2 separate regions of the Homo sapiens genome follow, and region 1 is linked to region 2. The links are contacts of gene promoters, found by promoter capture Hi-C in human tissues and cell types (Jung and others, 2019). All regions are on one chromosome and are shown on one strand. Each heading gives the region's core, a stretch centred on a gene start or on the middle of the fragment in contact. The rest is flanking DNA. Distances are from core to core; before and after follow the strand shown.

Evidence for each region. Contacts are between HindIII fragments. The study calls those that stand out against the background at their distance.
Region 1: a fragment that was not itself captured here is called in contact with the fragment with the promoter of QRICH2 in region 2 in 1 of the 25 tissues and cell types used here (dorsolateral prefrontal cortex).

Annotation. Positions count from the first base shown.
Region 1 is chr17:76,712,378-76,717,729 of GRCh38, reverse strand. It overlaps a transcript of JMJD6 not described here. Among named protein-coding and RNA genes, the nearest start is that of MXRA7, 4.1 kb to the right of the region's middle. The HindIII fragment of the contact is 3,371 bases long and covers 1,827-5,197 here.
Region 2 is chr17:76,306,833-76,311,678 of GRCh38, reverse strand. QRICH2 (glutamine rich 2) reads left to right here and starts at 3,403. Exons shown (of 19, transcript NM_001388453.1): 1 at 3,403-4,214. The coding sequence starts at 3,681. It overlaps PRPSAP1 (phosphoribosyl pyrophosphate synthetase associated protein 1), which reads left to right. Exons shown (of 10, transcript NM_002766.3): 10 at 1-2,201. The coding sequence ends at 137. The HindIII fragment of the contact is 11,814 bases long and covers 1-4,846 here.

The DNA.
Region 1 (5,352 bases), core at 2,263-4,762, 410 kb before region 2:
TGTGAGCCACCATGCCCGGCCAGCTAATTTTTTTTATTATTTTTAGTAGTGACAAAGTCTCTCTGTGTTGCCCAGGCTGGTCTTGAACTCCTCACCTCAAGTGATCCCCCCACCTCAGCCTCCCAAAGCAGCAGGATTATTACAACAAGCATGAGCCACCTCACCCAGCTTTTATAAAAACTTAATCACGTCTCCAAGTACAAGATTGGACCTAAATAAGTTAAAATTTAAACGTGTTTGCAAGCACCTGGGCATGTAACAGGCTCATAATGGAATTTGTTCACTCTGCATTTGTCTAGGGTCTTTAAATGCCACAGGTCTTTGATGTGCTGGTTGAAGTGTTAAGAGAGGTTGTTGGAAGATAGTAAAATACTGAAGTTGAAGCTAGGCATCGTAGCTCAAGCCTGTAATCCCAGCACTTTGGGAGGCCAAGGCAGGAGGATCACTTGAGCTCAGCAGTTCAAGACCAGCTTGGAGAATATAGTGATACCCTGTCTTTAAAATATATATATACATGTTTTAATACTGACGTTCATAGGGTTTTGAATGTCTGAAGCCCTTGACTGCTGAAGGTGACATTCCTGTTAACGTTTTCTCTCCCAGCAGCTCAGTCTTTCTTAAATGCATGGGGGAAGTGCAGGACCCGCAGCCCTCCTATCGCGTGGCCTCCATTCTCTGTGGTTTAGCTGAAATTCCATGGGGAAATTCAAGTGACTTACTCAAGTGAATTTATCAAACTGGAATGTGCATTTCTCAACCCTCGATGTCCTTTCACAGCCATACTTAGACTCTTCCTGCCTTTTTAAATTGTTTCTATTATTACATATTTATAGATTTATATCTGCACTTGATCTGTGACTTTGTAATTTGTAAGAAAACTCTGGAGAAAGCCCTGCCATGACTTCCACGTGGGGTCCCGGGGGTCCTGCTTTTAACATTGCCTTCCAGCTTTGTACCCAGCATGCTGTCTACGTGCTGATTACAGGCAGTTGTGCTTTCCTTGGCAGGATTAGGGACACTTGTGGAGGCCGGGCTCACCCCTGAGCAGATAAAGAGACTCTCCCTGAGGTGCTTTCAGCGTAAGCTTTTGGCAGCCACCCAACTCAGTTCTCGCATCTTCTGCTCCTACCTTCTCCTCTGTCTTCTTTGAATTTGGATATTCCTTCCCTGGTCCAAGCTCCTATCTTCGGTCAAATGCTGTTTTTACTGCTTCCTAAGGATAGATTATCAAGAAATTTAACAGCTCGGCCAGCTCAGTGAAACACTGAAGCTAATGGGATGTTGGGTAAGAAGGTTCTGTGCTGTCTCATTGAAAACCGAGCCAGTCAACCACAAGGCTGGCAGGGTGTGATCCTTGTAACGTCTTGTGTCTGTTACCTCACGGATGTCGGTAAGGAGTTTCCACAGAGCCAGCTGTGTACCACAGAGACTGAGAGTGGTGAGTGGACTTTGTGAGCCAATTATGTGTCGGAAGGACTTGGAGTCTGCCCTTCTTCCTGTATGTCATCATCAGCCCACAAATGCATTCAGTGGCAGTGACCCAGCACCATCACCATCACCCACTGCTCAGTCTGTCTTAGGATTCCTTATCTTTTTCTCCATCATCATAGAGACTGAAATTTCAGGGGTGTTTTTGTACAGTGTATTTTTTTGTGGGGGGGTGATACATTGGGGTTTTTTGTTTGCATAGAGTGGGAACGGTGTGCAATGTGCTCTTACCACAGAACTTAAAGTATGAATAGGCTCCATTCTTCCGCACCATGGGATCCATAAGAAGTGCTCACTTTGCGAGGTACTCTGAGATTAGCGTTCCCCATTTGTTTGACCTACAGACGTTAAGTGGGTGACTTGTGTTACACACGGGGAGTAAATTCAGAGATGGCACCTGTAGTCTTTGCAGTCTGTTGATACTTCTAAATAACTAACTGGATGACTTTTTGGGGATTGACCAGCAGATGCCATCTCTTGCCCTCTTGATTCACCTGCTTGCCTTAATTTGTCCCTAAATTCAACTAAACTTCAATAAGAGGGGTTGTCAAGGCCATGGGGCGCACTTGGAAGCACTGCCTGGGCTGGAGCGTTGGAGGCATTGGCAGGCAGGTGGGAAGGAGCTCTCACTGCAGTGTTCACAGGCAGGGAGGCTGTGTGTGGATGTGTTAGAATTGTGTGCTGTTGCCTCTCAAAATATCCACTAGAAACAGGTGTAACCAGGAAAATACAGGTCTCTGCTCACTGTTATTAACAGACTGTCATTTCCTGACATTGGGTCATGTGGCTTTACTCTAGGAGGCTGGTTCTCTATTTTTGTCTTAGTTCAATTTTCTGCATCCTCAAATGCCAACCCCAGTATGTGGCTGGGTAGGTAGAACTGTGCTGCCTGCCTGCCATGGGGGCTGCTCTCCCTCCTTACCCCCACGCCCACAGCCCCCTTGGTTCTGTGGTGGGCACAGGATGTGTTTGGGTGTGAGTAAAGTCAAACTCTGAATGTATAATCTCTTGGTAGTAATATCTGAGTGGTGTTGCTACTCCTGCTTTTTAAAAAGACTTTTCTTGCCATCTATAAAAAGCTTTTTTCTTTTTCCCAGCATTGCTCCTGTGCTGCCACGCTTGCCCTTTTTCCTTACCTTCCTTTCAGTTTTCTATCAACAACTCCTCTAAACTTCAGTTTAAAATAAAAAACAGCCCAAAAAGGCTCTTTGCCACCAGGGGGCGTGGTAGGACACGTTGCCAGTGGTCTGGATAGGGGAGCAGAAATTTTGAATTTTAAAAATTAGCCACCAAGGCCAGGTGCAGTGGCTCACACCTGTAATCCCAGCACTTTGGGAAGCTGAGGCAGGGGGATTGCTTGAGTCCAGGAGTTCAAGACCAGTCTGGGCAACATAGTGAGATCCCATCTCTCAAAAAAATAATAATCTAGAAAATAAAGATTAGCCACCCAGTTTTCTTTCTCCAGATGCTAAAGTTGATTCCTGTTTGATAACAGTATTCCAGAAATGAGGGGAATAACATATCTGATAGGCCCAAGTCAGCTCTGGATAGTACAGTGTCTGGATAGTACAGATTCTGTGCTCCTGGGACATGCTTTGTTTATTCCTGCCAGGCCAGGGATTCAGCAGCCCTATTCCCCAACCCCCGTTACTGTCTCTGTGGGCTAGCCAGGCTGTCCGTTATGTAAGCACAACAGGGGCAAGGTGGGGAAACCGTGTGTGGAAAAGGAGTGGAGTGGTGGCGGGTGGCCAAGGTAGACTAGGAAGAGTGGGTACCCAGAGACCACTTGTTCAGAAGTTAACTCCTCTTCCCATCTGGCGTGAGCTACTCCATTGAATGGTGCCAACAACAGTAAAGTGAAGGAGATAATGTTAGATTATTTTCAGGGATGATTCTCCAAGATGACAGCAGATCTTAAAACCAAAGAGCTGGGTCCTGGAAGAAGGGATCTTGGATTATTAACTTCTGATGGAAGGACCAGAGTGGGAGAGAGAAGAGTTGGGGACCTAGAACATCAGGAGGACCCTGGGTCTTTGGGGATGAGGCTTCACCATCAGCTGGAAGAATCCATGCTTCACACACATGCCTCTGCCATTAGTGGTACTGGGATGTTTAGGGTGACATCCTTGAGGGGAGAGCCACTGAAAAGAGGGACATTCACATTTTGCTGTATTCTTGCAGCTGTCCGTGTCTTAATAATTCAAGCGTTCAATAGGTGTTTGAGGGCCAGGCACTGCTCTTGAGGTGCTGGAGATAACGGTGACAAGCCCAGGTCCCTGACAAGCTCCACAAGCTTAATGGACAGTGAATGTGCGGCTGTTGCGGCTGTTCACAGGGCCGCTGGTGAGGGCAGGTAGAAGAAAGTGCAGACCTTCTTAAATGCAGGTGTAACGGATCTACATGAAAGAGCATAATTAACACCAATGTATACTTAAGGTAGTAACAGCTTCTTCATAAAGTAGCAAAACTAAGGATCTGTGGGAAGGTTGCTGGTGCAAATGCTTTATAAGCTTACTAGAGACTGAGCCTTGGATTTAGGACTTTAGACGAGTATAGGATGGAACAAAATTTTTGCAGTAAATGTAAAAAATGCTGTGTAGGAGGAAGGCGTATAAGGATGCCCCAGCTGTAGGTTCTTTAGATTGTCTGTAGTATTTCCACGAGTAAGTTGTTTTTGATGTGTGTACTGGTATTGCTGGTAGATTTGAAGTGGAGTCTGGCGGCTTCTTCCACACTCCCCTCCCACTAGCTTGTGTCAAGATGTGACATCCTATGCAGCAAAACTAGGTGAGCTTGCACCCCCAGGCGGTGGCTCTCAACTTTGTCTCATTGTTCAGAAATTTCGGCCAGGCGCCGTAGCTCACCCCTGTAATCCCAGCACTTTGGGAGGCCATGGCAGGTGGATCACTTGAGGTCAGGAGTTCAAGACCAGCCTGGCCAACACGGTGAAACCCCGTCTCTACTAAAAATACAAAAATTAGCCAGGTGTGGTGGCACATGCCTGTAGTCCCAGCTACTTGGTCAACTCAGGCAGGAGAATCACTTGAACCCAGGAGGCAGAGGTTGCAGTGAGCTGAGATCAAGCCACTCCAGCCTGGGTGACAGACCGAGACTCTGTCTTTAAAAAAAAAGAAATGTCATCTAAGCCCCAGTGAACCTCCTGGGAGGAGAGCTAGCCCTGGCCAGCTGTCTCCAAAGTGACTGGATGCTACAGAAGAACTGGGACTGTCTTCTGCACACTCGTGCCTCCTGGAGTTGTCAGAACACTGAGCAGTCTCCTAGTTCTGCGTCCGTCTAGCCATGGGGTCTGCCATGAAAGCCTGTGGATCTGCTATTGGGTTGGTATTTTAAACTTTCACTTGGGTGAAACTTGTTCATCATTTTAAATAAAGCAACATGATTTGGAGTTGTGTTTTTGGCATTGTTTTGTCCTTATTTTCTTTCTTACTCATTTGAAAGTCAACAATGTACTTTGTCAGCAGAACAGGACTTTAAAAAAATGTATTTACACTTTAAAACAATGGGATGGAGCACAAAATTAAGGCCCTGGGCCAGGAGCATTGATGCACACCTGTAATCCCAGCTGCCCAAGAGGCTAAGGCAGGAGGATCACTTGAGCCCAGGATGTCGAGGCTGCAGAAAGCTATGATCATGCCTGTGAATAGCCACTGCACTCCAGCCTGGGCAACATAGTGAGACCCTGTCTCTTTAAAAAAAAAAAAAGAAAGAAAGACCCTGTCTCTTTAAAAAAAAAAAAAAAAAATTGGCTGGGCGCGGAGGCTCACGCCTGTAATCCCAACACTTTGGGAGGCTGAGGCAGGCAGATTGCCTGAGGTCAGGAGTTCAAGACCAGTCTGGCCAACA
Region 2 (4,846 bases), core at 2,154-4,653:
CTCATGAGGTTCAGAAGCTGCAATGTCCCAAGATAAAGACTGTGGATATCAGTTTGATTCTTTCTGAAGCCATTCGGAGAATCCACAATGGAGAGTCCATGGCCTACCTTTTCCGAAACATCACTGTGGATGACTAGCTTTCACGAGGGTCTCGACCCTGGACCTCCTGAGGGAAACATGGAAAAAGCAGTGCCATGAGTGATACAGTGTTTCCTTGCAAGGGAGGACTCGAAACAGCCTGGAGTTAGATATCTTCTTTTGCCCGGATTGATGGGGAGGAGGGATTAAAAGAGTCAGGAAGAAGACAGAGCTAATGGATAAATATCATAACATGGCCTTACATGTCTGCTGTCATCAGCCCTGTTCCTTAAAAGTTCTAGCTGCTTTCTTAAAAATAATCTGAAAATCTTATTGATACTAAAGAGGAGTTAAAGGCACATAAAGTCTTAACTCTATAATGTTCATTTAGTTGTTTCAGCTCCAGGGAAATGGAGGTATTGATGTTGAACCTGGTTAGGGAAGCTGAGCGCCTGTGGCCCTATTACTATCCAGTTGGCCTCTCCCAAATCAACTTCAAGTCTTTTATAGAGAATCGTATTTTTCTTTCAGAAATTGTTATGCCTACAGCCATTGAAAAATGAAGCATTCATGTTGTTACATCTTCCAAGGATGTCAGATTAGAAAATAGCATCCCACCTCTGGGTATCTGAGTGGCTCTGAAGTTGCAAATAAAATAATTTGTTGTCTTGCTAGTCTTTTCATTAGACAGCAGAAGACCATGGATACAGAACAGCAGTCAGGTCTGTGGCTGGACACAAACACTTTCCCAGGTTCCACCCTCTTCCTAAGTGTTGAAGCTAAATCCTTGTTGAATACTGTATTTTAAATCTTTAAAAAAAAAAAAAAAAAGTCTAGGTGTGGTGGCTCACACCTATAATCTGAGTACTTTGGGAGGCTGAGGCAAGGAGGATTGCTTGAGCCCAGGAGTTTCAGACCAGCCTGGGAAACATGGCGAAACCCCCATGTCTACAAAAAATACAAAAATTAGCCAGGCATTGGTAGCATGTGCCTGTAGTTCCAGCTACCTTGGGAGGCTGAGGTGGGAGGATTGCCTGAGCCAAGGAGGTTGAAGCTGCAGTGAACTATGATTGTACCACTGCCATCCATCCTGGGTGACAGAGCAACACCCTGTCTCAAAAAAAAAAAACAGGCCAGGGATCGTGTCTTATGCCTGTAATCCCTGCACTTTGGGAGGCCGAGGCAGGTAGATCACCTGAGGTCAGGAGTTTGAGACCAGCCTGGCCAACATGGCAAAACCCCGTCTCTACTAAAAATACAAAAATTAGCCTAGCTAAGTTAAAAGCATAAAAAGACTACAAAGAGGCCAGGCATCATGGCTCACGCCTGTAATCCCAGCACTTTGGGAGGCCGAGGTGGGCAGATCACTTGAGGTCAGGAGTTTGAGACCAGCCTGGCCAATATGGTGAAACCCTGTCCCTACTAAAAATACAAAAATTAGCCGGGTGTTGGGGGAGGGGGTGCACGCCTGTAATCCCAGCTACTCGGGAGGCTGAGGCAGGAGAATTAATTGGTTGAACCCAAGAGGCAGAGATTGCAGTGAGCTGAGATTGTGCCACTGCACTCCAGCCCAAGTGACAGAGCAAGATTCCATCTCAAAAAAAAAAAAAGACTGCAAAGAACTAGTTATTTTGATAACCCCTTAAAGGCCTACTGTGTCCCAAGTTATTGGAATATAATGATGATCGAAAATCCTTCAATTAAATAAACAGTACCTCTCAGGCTGAAGTGAAAAATCTGAACTTGAACAGTAGTTAAAATAGTACAGTTATTCCTTACAATCCATGGGTGATTGGTTCCAGGACTCAACCTCCTGCCCATGGATGTGCAAGTCCCTGATAGAAAATGGTGTAGTATCTGCATATAAGCTATGCACATCCTGGATGACTTGTAATACCTACTGCAATATCCTGTGTAGATGGTGGTCATGCTGTATTATTTAGAGAATCATGACAGGAATCTGTACGTGTTCAGTCGTGGTTGGTTAAATCTGCAGATGCAGAGCTCACGGAGGAGGCTGGCCATGCATGGCACACATTCATAGGTTCTCTTTAAGTAGCCTTGCTGTGCTTCTGTTAGGAAGTTTTATTTATACGTTTTTGGGAAGAATCTTGTATGGGGAAGTCATGTCTCAATTGTTAACACCAGATTTGTCTCGTGCTGTTTAATCCTGCTTTGTAATGAGCTCAAGCACAGGCGCTTGACCAGGTGAGTGGTTTCTTTTCTTTTCTTTTTTTTTTTTTTTGAGACAGAGTCTTGCACTGTCGCCCAGGCTGGGGTGCAGTGGTGCGATCTTGGCTCACTGCAACCTCTGCCTCCCGGGTTGACGCGATTCTCCTGCCTCAGCCTCCCGAGTAGCTGGGATTACAGATGCGCGGTACCATGCCCGGCTAATTTTTTGTATTTTTAGCAGAGGGGTTTCACTATGTTGGCTAGGCTGGCCTTGAACCCCTTACCTCAGGTGATCCACCCGCCTCGGCCTCCCAAAGTGCTGGGATTACAGGTGTGAGCCACCAAGCCTGGCCGTTTTTTTGAGATCAATTAATTTATGGCAGGCTGGGCGCGGTGGCTTACACCTGTAATCCCAGCACTTTGGGAGGCCGAGGTGGGTCGATCACTTGAGGTCGGGAGTTCAAGACCAGCCTGGCCAACATAGTGAAACCCCGTCTCTGCTAAAAATACAAAAAATTAGCCGGGCATGGTACCACGCATCTGTAATCCCAGCTACTCGGGAGGCTGAGGCAGGAGAATCATGTCAACCCGGGAGGCAGAGGTTGCAGTGAGCCGAGATCGTGCCATTGCACTACAGCCTGGGCGACAGAGCAAGACTCCCTCTCAAAAGTAAAAAAAAAATTATGGCAGCACAGAAAAGGGACAATTAGCCACCAGTTAGTCATCTAGTGGCTAATTGGAACTGCCTGAATAGTGAGTGGGTTGTCTTTTCCAAGTTGCTTCACCTTTGATTGAACAAAATATGTGGACTGTCTGAGGGGACCAGGGCCCCAGGACTGCATCCCTTAGACATGGGGCCATAGACATGGGGCCACCACTCTGGAATGGACGCAGCTGATGACACAAAGCATGGTTGCCAGGAAACCCTCAAGTCTTTCCTTATGTGGCCCCGCCAAGAGTGAGTGAATCCTGGCCTTTCTAGGTTAAGGGGATGGATGGAGTCTAGCTGGATCTTAGGAGGCCTCCTCAGCCCGTTGCCAAGGCTCCCCTTGTGATCCTTGTGGTGGCCTTTACTTCCCCCCGCCCCCGTGGCTCGCAGGGAGGCGTGTTGTTACGTGGAATCTTCAGGGCACGCGGGGGCCCCCACGTTTCAAACGTCCGCCGGCGCGGGGACTGGGAGTCCAGGGCTCCAGCTCGGGGACCCGAGGCCAGCGACAGACAGCGGAGGGGTGGCCATCGCGGACCCCGCCGGGGAGCGGAGGCGCAGATTCCCTGGAGGCAGGAGCTCTGTCCAGTGACTCGGCCGGACCCGGGGCAGGGGCGCCCCGAGGACCTCGCAGGGCCCCCGAAAGGCCCCAAGGCGCGGCGTGCAGTGAGCGGGAAGTGGTTGGCCGGCGCCCCGCGGCGGCGCACAGCTCCTGACAGCCACGATGCCGCCCGCGACCACGGTCTCCCTCCGGGAGCTGGCGGACCTCTCCATCGGCACGCCAGAGGTGGGCGCCGTCAACTTCACGGCCCTGCACACGCTCATCGTGGCCATGCTCAAGAACCTCGACCTCCAAAATACCCGGATCGACTTCCAGCCCTCGTCGCCCGAGCCCAGCCGCTCGCTGCAGTCCGTCCGGAGCTCGTTCAGCATCCCGCACCTGCCCGCGCCCAAGGAGGTGCCCAAGGGGGCGCCCCGGGAGAAGCGCAGGGGCGTGGGCCAGGCGCCTTCGTCAGCGCTGGAGAGCCAAGTGAAGGACCTGGGCGGCCAGGTGGAGGACCTGAGCAAGCAGCTCAAGCGTGTGGACGGCCAGGTGCAGGGCATCGCCACGCACGTGCAGCACTTCTCCCAGGCCAGCGGGCTTGACCTGGCCGCGCTAGAGTGGCCGGAGGAGCAGGAGGTGGGCGTGCGGGCGTTCGATAGGGTGCGGACTGGGAGTATCATGAAGGACGCCGCCGAGGAGCTCAGCTTTGCCAGGGTGAGCACGCACACGGAGGCACGCGCAGGCCGTCTGCCTCCTCCAGGCCGCCCTCCAGGCCTAGCCGAGTCCCCACCACCCTGGAGGGGTGAGCGGTGGTGGGGACGGAGGGGATGGGGACCGAGGAGGTGCCAGACCTCAGTGCGACTGGCTAAATAGAGTGGCCCATGCTCTACCTTGCAGTCCACGGGGCTGCAAGACGTGAAAATCCTAAAAGAACGCCACCAAAAGGCCTAGGGCCTCCCCGAGCTGGAGGGGCCTGGGGACCCCACCTCCTAAGTGTAGTGGCCCCATCCCACCCCCTCCTTCCTAGCCCCTGTTTACGGGAGAGGTTCGCCCACCACTTATCAGACATCCAAGGACCCAGAGCTGGCTCAGAGTGGGGCCGGCAACTTCTCAGAAGATTCTTAGAGTGAATTCCCTTTTTAAAATGAATAAGGACATGAAGAGATACGTGTTGAGGACAAAGGCTCCCAGAGAAGGGGAGTCAGGATGGAGAGTTGGACCTCAGCTTCCTATGGCCATGACACAAGCCACAGCAGGCAGGGGACCGTTTCACTTGGACTTTTTTTTTTTTTGAGAAGGAGTCTCACTCTATCACCCAGGCTGAAATGCAGTGGTGCAGTCTCGGC